Regions from separate parts of the Homo sapiens genome. Here region 2 is linked to region 1. Evidence: promoter capture Hi-C in human tissues and cell types (Jung and others, 2019). All regions are on one chromosome and are shown on one strand. The core of a region is centred on a gene start or on the middle of the fragment in contact, and the rest is flanking DNA. Distances in the headings are between cores, read along the strand shown. Region 1 holds the start of RAB6B (RAB6B, member RAS oncogene family). Region 2 overlaps SLCO2A1 (solute carrier organic anion transporter family member 2A1).

Region 1 (6,759 bases), core at 1-2,500:
GGTGCCCCTGTATCATTCCCCAAATCGCCTCGAGTTGGGGTAGCCCTCACTGCAATTGCCCAGATCCCTGGGCAGCAAGGAGACTAACAAGCGCCGGCGAAGGGCAGCGGGTCTAGAACCTTCTGTGCCCAGTCGGACGTGAGCCAGGGGAGGTAGGCTCCCCGTTCCCCCATGGCCTGCACTCGCTCTTTCGAGCAGAGACAGGTGTCGCTCTTTTCTCCCCGGTGGCTGTTTGTCCCACGCCCTGGACGTGCCCTTTCGCATGGTTCCCAGCAGGGTCCGCAGGGAACACCCCTCCAGTGCAGCGGAGTGAGGCCCGGCCAGACCCCAGCTTCGCTTCGTTCTCCAAGGGGGGCGCCCGTCGCTCTCCCCACCCCCGCCAGCACCCAGCCACCTGCGCGGTCGCCCGCAGCCGGTGCCGCAGTGTGAGCTAGCCAGCGAGCCCGGTTCCTTCACGCCCTGGCCAGCGCCGCGGAGCCAGCCGCCGCCCTCCGGGCCCCCTGCAGCGCCGCACCTGCACCCACACCCCGGGCCCCCCACCCAGAGCCCACCCTCACCTCCACCCCAGGCTCCAGCGCCTCCTCCGTCCTCACCCTTGGCCCCTCCCCAGCCCGACCCCGCCCCGACCTCCCCATCCCTGTCCCTCTCCTCTACCCTGGCAAGGAGGGGCCTTTCCGAGCCTGGGCCGGGGGTCCCAATGGGGTGGGCGATTGGGCGGCGGGGGTCGACTCGGCGACAAGCCAAGAGATTAAGCCGGGTACTTACCGCTCTGCTCCCCCAAGAACACCAACTTGAATTTTCTCAGTGGATTCCCAAAATCTCCCCCTGCGGACATGGTGCTGGCAGCCGGGGCCGGGAGAGGAGGAGGAGGAAAAAGCGAAGGAGCAGGGAGGGGAGAGTAGGAGGGCGAGGGGAGGCGGCCGGCGGTGCGGGAGCCGGAGGGGGAAGGGCTGGCTGCGCGCGTCCCTGACTCCCCAGCTGCGTCCCGGTCCCGGCCTGCGGCTGCGTGTCCGGCGGCGGAGGAGGAGGAGGAGAGAGAGGCGGAGGCGGAGGAAGGCTGGGGCTGGGCTGCTGCGGTCGGCACTGGCTGCGGTGCGAGGGGCGCGCTCTTTACGCCCGAGGCGCGGCGCTGGGAGAGAGGCGCGGGCGGAGCGGGGCGCAGGGACGGCGCGCGGGGCGGAGGAGCGCTCTCCAGAGCCGCGCCAGTCGGCCCCCTCCCGCCTGCCTCCTCCGCCGGCGCCTGCGCTCTGTGCGCTCCCCAGCCTCTGATGTCATGCGGGGCCCGCGGGGCTGCGGGGCTGGGGGGCGTGCGCCCGCCCACCCGAGCCCGCACCCGGGCAGGAGAGAACCTCCTCGCCGTACCCCTGAGAGCCCCCCGGGGGGGACCGTGTCTCGCTGCCCCGCTGCGTCTGTCTTCCCCACTCTACCCCTCTTTTGAATCCAGAAAATGACAGAAATTGTCAGGGGACATTTGTTTCTGGTCTTTTAAACCTAGATGCCAGTCCCTTCCTCCACCTCGCGAGACACCGATGCACAGCGCAGTCGTCCGACCGACAGGGCGGAAAGGAACGAAGGTGGGGGAGAGCCAGGGTGTGGCGAGGCCCGTCAGGGCGGTCAGACCTAGGGAAACCTGGCGTACTTGGCGCAGATGGGGCTCGACTCTTGCCCCCCGTGGCTTCTAGCCCGCCCTTCCCTCTCGAGGCCTAGACCCTTTATTTGGGCGGCCTCTTGTGGAGTCTGTGGGTGCCCCCGCAGACCTGGCCAGCGAGAGAGGAGCTGCCAATATCAGGCGCGCCTACCTCAAACCAGCTGCTCATTTGGATCATTTTATGCCAAATCCTAACCTGCCCCATGGGAGAGAAGGAACGGTGACGCTCTGAATGCCAGTGCCACTATCTCCAGGACAGTGCCCTGCGTTTCTTGATCCCGGGGTCGCCAGGCTGACAATGCCACTCCCCACCCTGGCAATTAGGTGTATCTGGACAATGAGCTATCTGAGGACATGTGGGCGACCTCTCCTTGGCCTCTACTTGCCTGGTCCATCGAGGCACACAGACCAAGTTGTGAGTGAGTGAGAGCAAAGAGCAGACGCCAAGTGCTAGAAACACTCCCAAGACAGCCCGAGCCTAAGGCATGCTGGTTAATTGAGGTTTTACAAAGCTGTCCCTTACTGTTCTGCCACAGCGTGGTCTTGTTCATTTATGGCTGTTCAGTGAGCATTTATTTGAGATAATAATCTGCATGTCGGTGAACACGATGGTGTGTGCACGCATGTGTTATAGAAAGAGAAAGAGGAGTGAGACACAACCTTCACCTCCAGATTTCTCGTGGACACTTGTTACCCCCTTTTTGACTTATGGGGCTTGCTTGGGCAAGCCTATCTGTCTCCCTGGTGTGCTCACCTCGAATCTCTTTCCTATTTCTTGTTAGAAACCTGACCACAAGTTCCATAAAAGCAGTAGTTGAAGCTCCACCACTGCATCCCAAGGACATAGCTCAGAGTTTAAGAAATAGTTGTTGAATGTTTGAATGAACATCTAGAACTCAAATCAAAATAACTGTCCTATTCTCATAATTACCTTTAGTTTGGAACCCCAGGGATTGTAAGTCATCACCTAGAATATCTGCCCCGTTGTGGCTGGCACCAGGCTCAGGGTAACCCTCCAGACACCCACCCACTTCTCTGGGGCTCCTGCTCTCTTAGGAGACCATATCCAGCTTGGGGTTGAAGAAAGCTCTGAAAGGAGAGGAGACTCCCAAGTCACAGCCCTTCCCGTCTCTATAAGTGATCCCTCCAAAGAAGGGCCAGTGAGCTACTGGCCAAGGTACCCAGCCATGCAACACTCCTCCAACCTGCACCTTCTCCTAACATCTAGTGCTGTCTCCCTGTACCCTCTCATCCTGACCTGATGAGATCATCGGTGGCAAGACAAAACAGCTGAGGTGTGCCAGAAAAGGCACCATCTTTTGGGTAAGCCTAGGCAGGTCCTGTACCTCCTCTGATCATCTGGTCCCGCACATGTAAGGTGGTATGGCAGTAGGGGAGGGAGGGCTGGGGCAGGGCCCCTCTGGGCACCTCTAAGCCTCCAAGTCATCCCATATGCTTACCAGGTCCAGCTGGGCTGACTATGGTCCAGCTTACTTTGGGGGACTCTGTCATAATTCTTCCAGTTCAAATGACAAAAACCCGGCTCCGACTACCGGGCTCACGTCGCTGGAGCAGATACTGGCATTGCTCTCAGAATGCAGTCATCATGCTGTGGAAATGAGAGCCTTAGAGACTCCAAGTTTGCTCTGCTCCAAGTCTCTCTCCTCCAACTATCATTGCTTATCTCCCCTGATTTTGAGTCTTGTCCTTAACCTGCCCTAAAGCAGACAGACTTTCTCCAGGTGGAAAATGGGGCCACTGAACCTCAGCCTGGCAACCTCACTAGAAAGAGTTTCTTCCATATCATAGAATCTGTGCATTCCATTTAAAAAAATTCTTTAAATCTTCCTATTTAGTATGTGCTGTGTATATGTAAGTTACAAAGAAAACCTATCACTCTGAGTGCCCATTTACCCTCTACACAGCTGGAGGGCTCAAATATTATAGTACTTTTCAGGCCCCCAGGTGCTTTCTTCTCCTTCCTCCCTCCCCAACTTGGAAATCCAGAATCTTAGCTTTTCTTTGAGTTTTATCACATTGGATGTGTCCTTCACAATACTTTGTTTTGTTTTGCATCTTTTGAATCTTATATAAGGTATCAAACTGTGTTTTCTGTCCTGACTTGCATGTTTCTTAACATCATGTTTCTGAGATCCATTTGTTAATTCATGTAGCAGCAGTTCTTTCATTTTCACTGCTGGTTAGTATTCTAGTTATGCCCCAATTTTTAAATGATTTTCTGTAAAATGTGTCATTTAAAATTTTTATTTTATTTTATTTTATTATTGTTGTTATTATTTTTGAGATGGAGTCTTGGTCTGTCACCAGGCTGGAGTGTAGCGGCGCCATCTCGGCTCACTGTAACCTCCGCCTCCCAGGTTCAAGCAATTCACCTGCCTCAGCCTCCCGAGTAGCTGGTACTACAGCCACGCACCACCAGGTCTAGCTAATTTTTTTATTTTTAGTAGAGCCGAGGTTTCACCATGTTGACCAGAATGGTCTCAATCTCTTAACCTCGTGATCCGCCTGCATCAGCCTCCCAAAGTGCTGGGATTACAGGTGTGAGCCACCACGCCTGGCCTTTTTTAAAATTATTTTAAATAATTTTATACTCACATAGAGGTTATAAAAAACAGTGCAGGGAGTTACTATGTATCCTGCACCAAGCTACCCCAGTGATAACATCTTACATAACCACATTGCTTAGTAAAACCAGGAAATTAACATTGGAAAATGCACTCAGTTTTGTTTCTGCTATTAACAAACAATGCTGCCATCAACATTCTTTACATGTCTCTTGATGCCTCTGTGAAGTTTTTCTAAGATATGTGTCAGTAGGTAAATTGTGGTATAAAAACAAGTGTACGTTTAATTTTGTGCCAAACTATTTTTCAAAGATATTCGTTAGATCATATAGCACTACAGCATCATCTATATTTTTCATTTTCTTCAAGATCTTGGTTTTCCTGAGCCCTTTGCTGTGTTATATATATATATATATATATTTAAATTAAATTTTTGAGATCATTGTAGATTCACAAACAGGAAAAAAAAAAAAGACAGATCTGTATATCCTTTATCTAGTTTTCACCAAGAGTAAGATCTTGCAGAACTTTATACTACAGTATCATAATGTGGATACTGGAATTAAGACAGTCAAGGTACATTTCTGTTCTGTACCTTGACACACAAAGAGCCCTCATGTTCCCCTTTTATAGCCACACCCACTTTCCTCCCACCCTCAACCCCTTCCTAACCTCTGGCAACCACTAATCTGTTCTTCATTTCAATAAATGTGTTATTTCAAGAATCTTATATAAGTGGCATTACACAGTATATCACCCTTTGGGATTGTTTTTTTCACTTCACCTGGCTGGAGCACTCAAATATTACAGTACTTTTGAGGCCCTCAGGTGTTTCTGCCCCTCCCTCTCTCCCCAGCTTGAAAATCCAGAACTGTGGCTTTTCTTTGAGTTTTTATCACATTTGGATGTGTCCTCCAACAATACTTTTTTGTTTTGCATCTTTTGAATTTTATATAATGTCTCAAACTGTATATTCTGTCCTATGACTTGCATTTTTCTTAACATTATGTTCCTGAGATCCATCTGTTGATTCATGTAGCAGCAGTTCTTTCATTTTCCCTGCTGGTTACTATTCCACTGCATGTCCTATTTTTTTTTTCACATAATTCTATGGAGATTCACCCAGGTTATTGTTTGTAGCAATAGTTAGCTCCCTTTTACTGCTGAGTAGCATTCAATAGTATGGACGTACAGTTTGTTTAACCACTCACCTGTGGAAAGGCATCTGAAATTATTTCCAGTTTGGGGCCATTACAAATAAAGCTGTTATGAACTATCATGTAGAGATTTTTGTGTGAAAGGAAGTTTTTATTTCTCCAGGATAAATGCCCAGGAGTGCACTTGCTGGGTCATATGCATGTTTGTTTTTTAAAGGAACTGCCAGACTTTTCCAGAGTGGTTCTACCACTTTCCACTCCCCACCAGCAATGGATGAGCGATCCAGCCTCTTCTCACCCTCATCAGCATTTGCTGTTGTCAATATTTTAAGCCATTATGAGAGGAATGTAGTAATATCTCATTGTGGGTGGTTTTAATCTACATTTCCAATGACTAATGATGTTCAACATATTTTCATGTGATTAATTGCCATCTGTATATCCTCTTAATGAAATGTCTGTTCATGTCTTTTGTCCATTTTTAAATTAGATTCTTTTCTTTACTGTTAAGTTTTGAGAGTTCTTTATGTATTCTAGATACTAGTTCTTTGTCAGATATGTGATTTACAAATATTTTTTCCCACTCTGCTGGAGTGCAGTGGCACAATCATGGCCCACTGCAACCTCAAACTCCTGGGCTCAAGTGATCCTTCTGCCTCAGCCTCTTAAGTAGCTATGACCACAGAGGTGCGCCAGCACACCCAGCTAATTTTTAAATTTTGTTTTTATAAAGACAAGGTCTTGCTATGTTACCCAAGCTGGTCTTGAACTCCTGGCCTCAAGCAACCCTACCACCTCAGCCTCCCTAAGTGCTGGGATTACAGGCATGAGCCACCACTCCGAGCAATTTAACAAGGTCTCTTTCAAAGCAAAAGTTTTTGAGTTTGATGAAGTCTAATTTACTGATATTTTCTTTTATGAATTGTGCCTTTTGGTGCCATGTCTAAGAACTCTTTACTAAGCCCTAAGTCCCAAAGATACTTTCCCATGTTTTTTGAAAAAATTTTAAAAATAGTTTTATGTCTTCCATTTATGTTCATGGTCCATTTTGAGTTACATTTGTGTGAGGTGTAAGACTTAGGCTGGAGGGGTTTTTTTGTTGTTTGGTTTTGGTTTTTTGCCCATGGATGTCCAGTTGCTACAGCAGCATTTGTTGAAAAGATTATATTTTCTCTATTGAATTGCTCTTGCACCTTTGTCAAAAATTTGTTGGTCCTCATTACTGTGGGGTGGTGGTAGAAGTCCAGCCTCCCCATGTGGTCTACGCTGACATTGCAGGTGGGAGGCCTTGGTACTGCCCACTGGAGGCAAAAGTCCTGGCTCCCATCTTGACCTTCTGTGATACCCCCATCCCAGCCAAAGAGTTGGG
Region 2 (6,703 bases), core at 4,117-6,616, 41 kb after region 1:
TGAATAAAAAAGGTTCCTGCACACTCTTCCTTTTCCGGCTTTTTTGTTCAGCCCTTGAGGAGCGGGATTCTGTAGGGAGAGGGAGTGGTGCAGAGGAGTGGGCTTCCTAGGACTGGGGCCGGGAGAGGGCATAGCCGCGAGTGTGCACAGGGAGGTGGGCCTAACCCTGGGGTCTCGGCTTTGTAGGGTTTCCAGGCTCAGGTGAGAAGCAGGGCCATTAAACAGCCTCAAATGGGAAAGGGACCAAAGACCCACAATGGCACCCTTGAATGCGTAGGCATCCAAGGACCTTCAGATGGCTCTAGGAGCCAGACCCAAGCATGGTTGATATTGAATTTCCAGCCAGACAGTAGGATGGGGGGTTTGAAATCAATAACTGATTTAAAGAAATAAGTGATTTTTTTCTTTTTGCACATCCAAGCTTGTGAAGTGAGAATGTCTCTCTCAGTACTGATAAGGGCCTCATATAAATGTGAGCTCTTGGATTGTTTTTCATGCCCATTGACTCTTAGTTGCAGCCATCCAAAAAATCAGATTCACAGGCATCTCTTCACCTTGTTATCCTTCACTCACCTTTGAACATACCAAAGGCCTATCGAGCCTGTAAATTTCTCAGTGGCCTAAGCACAAATGGGCATACCCCAGGCTCTATTGCACTGACAGCCCACCTCACAGGATTTGGGAACTACCCACATCAATCTCATGAGGGGGCCGTTAAAAGAGCCATTCCTGGGTCCCCATTAGACCCACAGAAGTAGACGCTGGGGCTGGGTGGAGGGTGTTGGGAATTTGCATCCTCTGTGAGTGTCACACACTCAAGAAAGTTTGTTAAGCTTTGCTCTAGAAGTGAAATGAAAGTGACACTATTATATTCCCTGCTGACAGCTGAAAAGAAAGATTTTCTTGGGAGTAGTAGTACTGGTTGTGACCATGTGATCAATTTGATTATGATATTAATTCTGTTTTGTGCCATGGACATAGCTGTTTGCGTCCAGCTCCGCTTCTGGATATAAACCCAAGAGCAGTGATGCGGCCTTCTCAGAGCCCAGCAGAACTTCACTGAAGGAATAAGCAGTGTCTGGTACTTGCCTGATACCAGGCTAATGGGTTGACAGTTGCATTACCTCTAATCTCCATGGCCATGGGCCCCTGGGGTCTATGTCATGAGCACTTCCTCTGTTTACAAGATGCAGGTGCCGGCAGGGCGCAGTGGCTCATGCCTGTAATCCCAACACTTTGGGAGGCTGAGGCGGGAGGATCACTTGAGGTCAGGAGTTTGAGACCAGCCTGGCCAACATGGTGAAACCCTGTCTCTACTAAAAGTACAAAAATTAGCCAGGTGTGGTGGCGCAGGCCTGTAATCCCAGTTACTCTGGAGGCTGAGGCAGGAGAATCGCTTGAACCAAGGAGGCAGAGGTTGCAGTGAGCCAAGATTGTGCCACTGCACTCCAGCCTGGGTGACAGAGCAAGACTCCATCTCAAAAATAAAATACAAATAAAAATAAAATAAAATTAAAAAGTGCAGGTGCTGTCTGTTCTCTGACAGATGTATATGACAACATAAATTCATGACCAAGTTACCTCAATAGCAAAATTAGAATATTTTAATAGTAATATAATAGAATAAAGGTTTGGGAGTGCAACCAATCTTCTAGAACCTGAAGGTTGGCATTCATTGTTCATAAACTCAGCTGAAGGCAGTGCCTTCCAAATGTGGTTAAATTGCCATGGGAAAGACCAGGGTTAGTTGCAGGGCATCATTTTCCAAGCAGAACCATTTCAAATGCTAAAACTGGCCCCTGAGGTTACATTGAGCCTCCCTTCCTGAGTGAGATGTTTGGAAATGAGGTGGCTTTGGAAATAAGCTTGTCTGTAACAGTGGTTTCCACAAAGACTTCAGTCTCATGGCATTGGACTTTGTTTGGACATTGACATAAATATTTTGGCATATCACCATATGAGGCTTTTCCAGAGGTGGCTTCCAGTATGCTTCTGGAGGGGGTCTTCCAAGAAGGGTGGCACTTAAGGGTCATGAATGGCCATGACCCATGCCCAGCTGTTCCAGAGGACATGGGGAGACAGAGCTGTCTGGCAAAGGGCCAGGTGCAGAGTCAGTCTGGGGGCCATGGATGGCATGGATAGTCAGGTCAGGATCCTTCATGCCAATCTGTGGCTTCTTGCTGTCCCCACCTCTCCTCCTGCTCTCACCAACTCCCACACCCCCAGTCCCACACTGCCCACCGAGCACACCCTGGGAGAAGGCCCTAATGTAAATGGAGGGAGGTGAGGTAAGAGCTGAGGGAAGCTCCATGGAGAACCCTGATTAGCATTGCTTTGCACAAAGTCGGTCTCCAATAAATATATTTGTTGATGAATGACCTCCTTCGTTGGCTTCTGTCTCTCAACATCTATCACGTAGCAGCTGTGTCTCTCAACCCAGGCACCCACCTCTCTGGAGGCAGTGAGAAGAGGCTGAGAAAATGGGAATGGTATGAGCATGTCTGAAACCAGGAAAGCCAACCTGACTGGCTGTTTTGTGGGCCGCAGCTTGCCATCCAGCTTGGTGACAGTGGACATCCACTCTGCTTCATCACTTGCTTTGCTGACATCTCTTCTGCCTCTCTACTCCTCGGAATACGGGCTGAAGTCCAGACAGGGAAGTGCATGTGAAGCCACCTCATCTGCTGCCAGGGAGATGTGGGAGGTTCTTCCCATTACTCTGAGATGAGGGGGTCTCGTCCCCACATTGAAGGGGTGGGAGGTTGGGCATCAGGACCTTTTCATAGGCCTTCCTTGGGTCTTCACTGTGTTGTAGCTTCCTCAGTTTGAAACGTACCCCAGAAAGACAGGGATAACATGTGAGGATCTAAGGACAGAAAGTCCAGGGTTCATATGGACAGCACTTAGATGACCCATCCTTGGGGTTTCTCAGTCCCTGCTCTGGTGCCTGCATGCAGGTAATGGGCAGAGACTGTACTTCCCAACATGGCAGCATCCAGAATGGCCTCTAGGTACAGGAAGTGAGGGTCTGAGGGGGAGGGAGCCAGCCCCTCCCGTAGTCTGTGCTGATGCCAAACCCAGGTGTGAAGGGGGTTACAGCCAGTCTCCCCAGTCTCCCAGTGGCTCTGGCTATTAATAACTCAGCCACTTCCTTCTTCCTTTCACCCCTGCCACTCTGCAGGGTGTGGGCAGTCAGCGGGAGAGTGGAGCTGCCTGGCAAGAAGGGCAGATACCCTTTTTCTCTCTCTGTTTAGGATTCCCCCCAGGGCTGGTGAGGGGCCTGGCTGCCTCAGTGGGCATCCTCAATGGAGGACTCAACACTGAAGTGAGCCTGGGCATCTGGGGGCCTCTTCCAAGGGGCCAGGGAAGACTCAGCCCCCCAGTTCTGGCCCACACAGCCCGGGTACACAGTGGCCCTTAGGAACTGTGGGGAGGACTCTGGGAGGAAGAGGTAGGGAAGGCAAATGAGGACTGGGGTTTTCTTTCTTGTTTAAAAATACAAAAAGGAAATGACGTGTTAACATTAGTGAGTATAGGCAGGTGTGGAAGAGTCAAGGTCCACTCTCTGGAGCAGGGCAGTGGCCCAGGGTGGGGTCAGATGAGGCCTGCCGCCTTCTGCACGTTGTACTCCTTGTTCTTCTTCACCCTCCAGCTGATGAAGCAAAGCAGCAGCATGCCCAGCGCCTTGTAGCCCATCTGCAGGCCCAGGTACCTGTGGGCAGGAGGAGGCAGGACTGGTGAGGGAGGGGGCTCTGCAGCCCACATCCCAGGGCCAGGACCACTGGGAAGAACCACATCATTCCCACGCTGGCCCGCGGAAGGTGTGGGCACCATCCAGGTGAGGATCACTTTCCTCATTTCTTTGACCCAAAAGGGAACAAAGCTGTAGGGAAGCAGGCAGGGAGTAGGCATGGGACTCTTAATCCAGGGCTCATCATCCCTCCACTGGCTCTTTCCAGAGGGCCAGAGGTGACCCAGCTGCCCCAGCCACCCCCAGACGGTCCTGACCTCCAAGCAGAGCCAGAAGGAGAGAGGCATCTTCTCACTGCCCTCTTGGCCTGTCCCTTTTGTGGTCTTCTCTGCCACTCCCATACCATTTCCAGCCCCTGCCCAGTCCCCTCAAGCCCACCTTCCTGTGGTTTCTGGGCCATATGACAACGGCAGCAGGTGAGGTGGCTGGAAGGGGTGCAGAACCCAATAGCACTGCAGCTGGACTTGGCCCATTGAGGCAGGTTGGTCCCCCTGCCCTGGACCTCTGCCAGGAGCCATGATGTGGCCCCCCTCTGTCTCTGAGCAGCAGGAGGCTGCCCCCAATTTTTCCACAGCCATGGCCTCTTCCTTGGGCTCCAGCCATCCCCGCCCCTTCTTTCTGCTGCTGCCCCTTCCAAAGGCTTTCGGGTCAGGGAAGTCCCTGGGTCTGCTGCCCCTTCCAAGGGCTTTCGGGTCATGGAAGTCCCTGGACATCTCCCTGTGAGCCCTGAAATGCCTGTTATAGTAGCCCCTGCTCCCTGTCCATGGCAGGGCCGCAGAGGTGGCCCTTCATGTTCTCTTCCTTGGAAGCCTGACAGCCCCCACAGTAGCCACTGGGCATATGACTACTGTCATCTCAAGCCCAGGGCCTGGCTCTGGGACACACATACATGATGGGCCCTCACCTGTCTCGGAGAGCATCGTTGTCATAGTAGGCGCAGGCCCCTCGCCTCCCCAAGCACAGCGAGTTCCACCGGATGCAGGAGTGGTCAATGGTGAGGCCATAGAGGGCTGGAGATGGCAGCCAGGCTGGAAGAGGGTTCAGAAAGCCCTGGTCAGGTGGAACTGCAGGCAGAGGTGTCCAGCAGGGGTGTGGGAGCCAAGTCCCCGACACAGTTCACATACATGAGAACGGCTCTGCCGTACCCATAGGACTCACAGTGACTCTGGAAAGCAGAATAGCTTTCAGTGAAGCCTGAATTTCTCTTTCACCAGAAGGCTTAGAAGACAAAAGGGACCTGGGCCATTCTTTCAAGTCAGAGTAAGTCACAGGGATCACCTTGATGCCGGCTCAGACATCCAACATAGTTCTCCTGAGATCAGCTCAGAGTGGAGATACACGGGCCTCCACTGTGTGGCAGGAGGCTCTCCAGGCATCGACTTCTCAGGTCCTCACACTGGCCCCGAGGTGTGGGTGCCCACTTTTTAGTGAAGAGGAAGGGGTTCTTGGCTGGGACACTGTAACACAGCCAAGAGAAGTCAAGGCCAGACTTGGAACCCTGGTTTATGGAGGTTCGAATCCCATGTACTTCCACCACACCAAGCTGCCCTATTGGATTAGACAACACCCCTCTGCAGACCTCCCAATACCTGGCTGCTCAAAGCTTCTGCTCTGGGACCCCGAACTTCCCAGCAGCTGAGTGTTAAGATTTGGCTTGGCAGGGGCTATGCCTTCCTGGCTGTCTAATATTCCGGATGCCACACTACCTGTGGGTAGCGTACCACTAGCTACAGCTCTAGGCAGTTACTGGACTGCGGAGGGCTTGTCCAGGATTTACACCAAGGCTGGCCCATCCCATTCTCAGCACCACAGTGCTGACAACAGCCTCCCAGACTTTGTTTAGGGCCCTGTGAGCAGCTGCTTCCAGAAGAAAGACAGACAATGCTCCACTTGTGGCACTGCCCACAAGTGGGAAACTCTAAGAAGAAGCCTCTCTACTCAGATCCTGCTCACTCTCAAGTCTCCAGGTGAACAGGGGGATGAAAACTGGCCAGAGTGATATATGACACTTCCTTATGTAGAAGCAAAGTCCGGAAACATTGTCAACCCAATCCCAATGTGTAATTTAAAACCTGTAATAGGAAGTCCTTTTTTTTACCCAAGAGTGGATTGTGTTCTTGGGTGATAAATGGAACCCCTCCAGGCCTGGGTTTTCTCATTGTGGTCCCACATTGAGTTATCTGAGCTCAAATGGAAAAGCAAAAGCAGCGAGTGCTTCAAGCAGTGCGAGAGAGTCCGAGAGAGTCCTTGTTTTCAAGGTCATTTTCAAGGTTGCTGGAGGAAGCAGGAAAGGGCTCTTTAGAGCCTATCCTAGGTGCTGGATGGGCTGAGAGGAATGTGAGGTCTCTTTCCCAGCAGAAGTGTTAGAGAAAGTTAAGTTATAAATGAAAATAAGGAGCTCTGATGACAGCAGAGCCTCTGCTGGGAGGACAGGTAGATCCTGCCGCCCTGCTTCCTCTGTGTTTATAATGCAGGCAGCAGGAGCAGGGTCTGAAGGGGCTCTGCAGGGACTAGAGGAACAAGAAATCCCACTGAAAAAGCTGGTTCATTCCCATCATCCAAACACTTCTCCCAGCCTGGGACTGGATTGGGCTCAGCAAGGGCTCCCGCTCACCTGGCCCCAGTAGAGACATCACCAATACATCTCAAAATGGGGATGGAAGCCACTGCAGGGCGCGGTGTTGACCTGGCCCCTGGGTAATGAGGCACAGTGGGCTATACATTATTTCAGGATTTATAGTCAGAAACGACACCTTATAGTAACTGAAGTTCCTCTTGCTGGAGTCTCCATATTCCCCTCTGTAGTTTGCACCCTTAATTAACACATCCTCAGTTCAATTAGGTCCCTTTACTACTGTGTGCCTGTCATTACAAGGATCTCTCTATTGCTGCCTTGTGTTAAGTCTAGTGCACAGATATGTCAAGAAGGAACAGCCAGTGTGAGCAGTTCAG

The links. The method cuts DNA at HindIII sites, captures the fragments that hold promoters and counts their contacts. A contact is called where the count stands out against the background at its distance.
Region 2: a fragment that was not itself captured here is called in contact with the fragment with the promoter of RAB6B in region 1 in 1 of the 25 tissues and cell types used here (spleen).

Annotation. Positions count from the first base shown.
Region 1 is chr3:133,894,632-133,901,390 of GRCh38, forward strand. RAB6B (RAB6B, member RAS oncogene family) reads right to left here and starts at 1,251. Exons shown (of 8, transcript NM_016577.4): 1 at 766-1,251. The coding sequence starts at 835. RefSeq lists a silencer at 1,221-1,270. The HindIII fragment of the contact is 14,643 bases long and covers 1-6,759 here.
Region 2 is chr3:133,931,119-133,937,821 of GRCh38, forward strand. SLCO2A1 (solute carrier organic anion transporter family member 2A1) reads right to left here. Exons shown (of 14, transcript NM_005630.3): 13 at 4,656-4,779; 14 at 1,583-3,712. The coding sequence ends at 3,595. Among named protein-coding and RNA genes, the nearest start is that of C3orf36, 4.7 kb to the left of the region's middle. The HindIII fragment of the contact is 9,478 bases long and covers 628-6,703 here.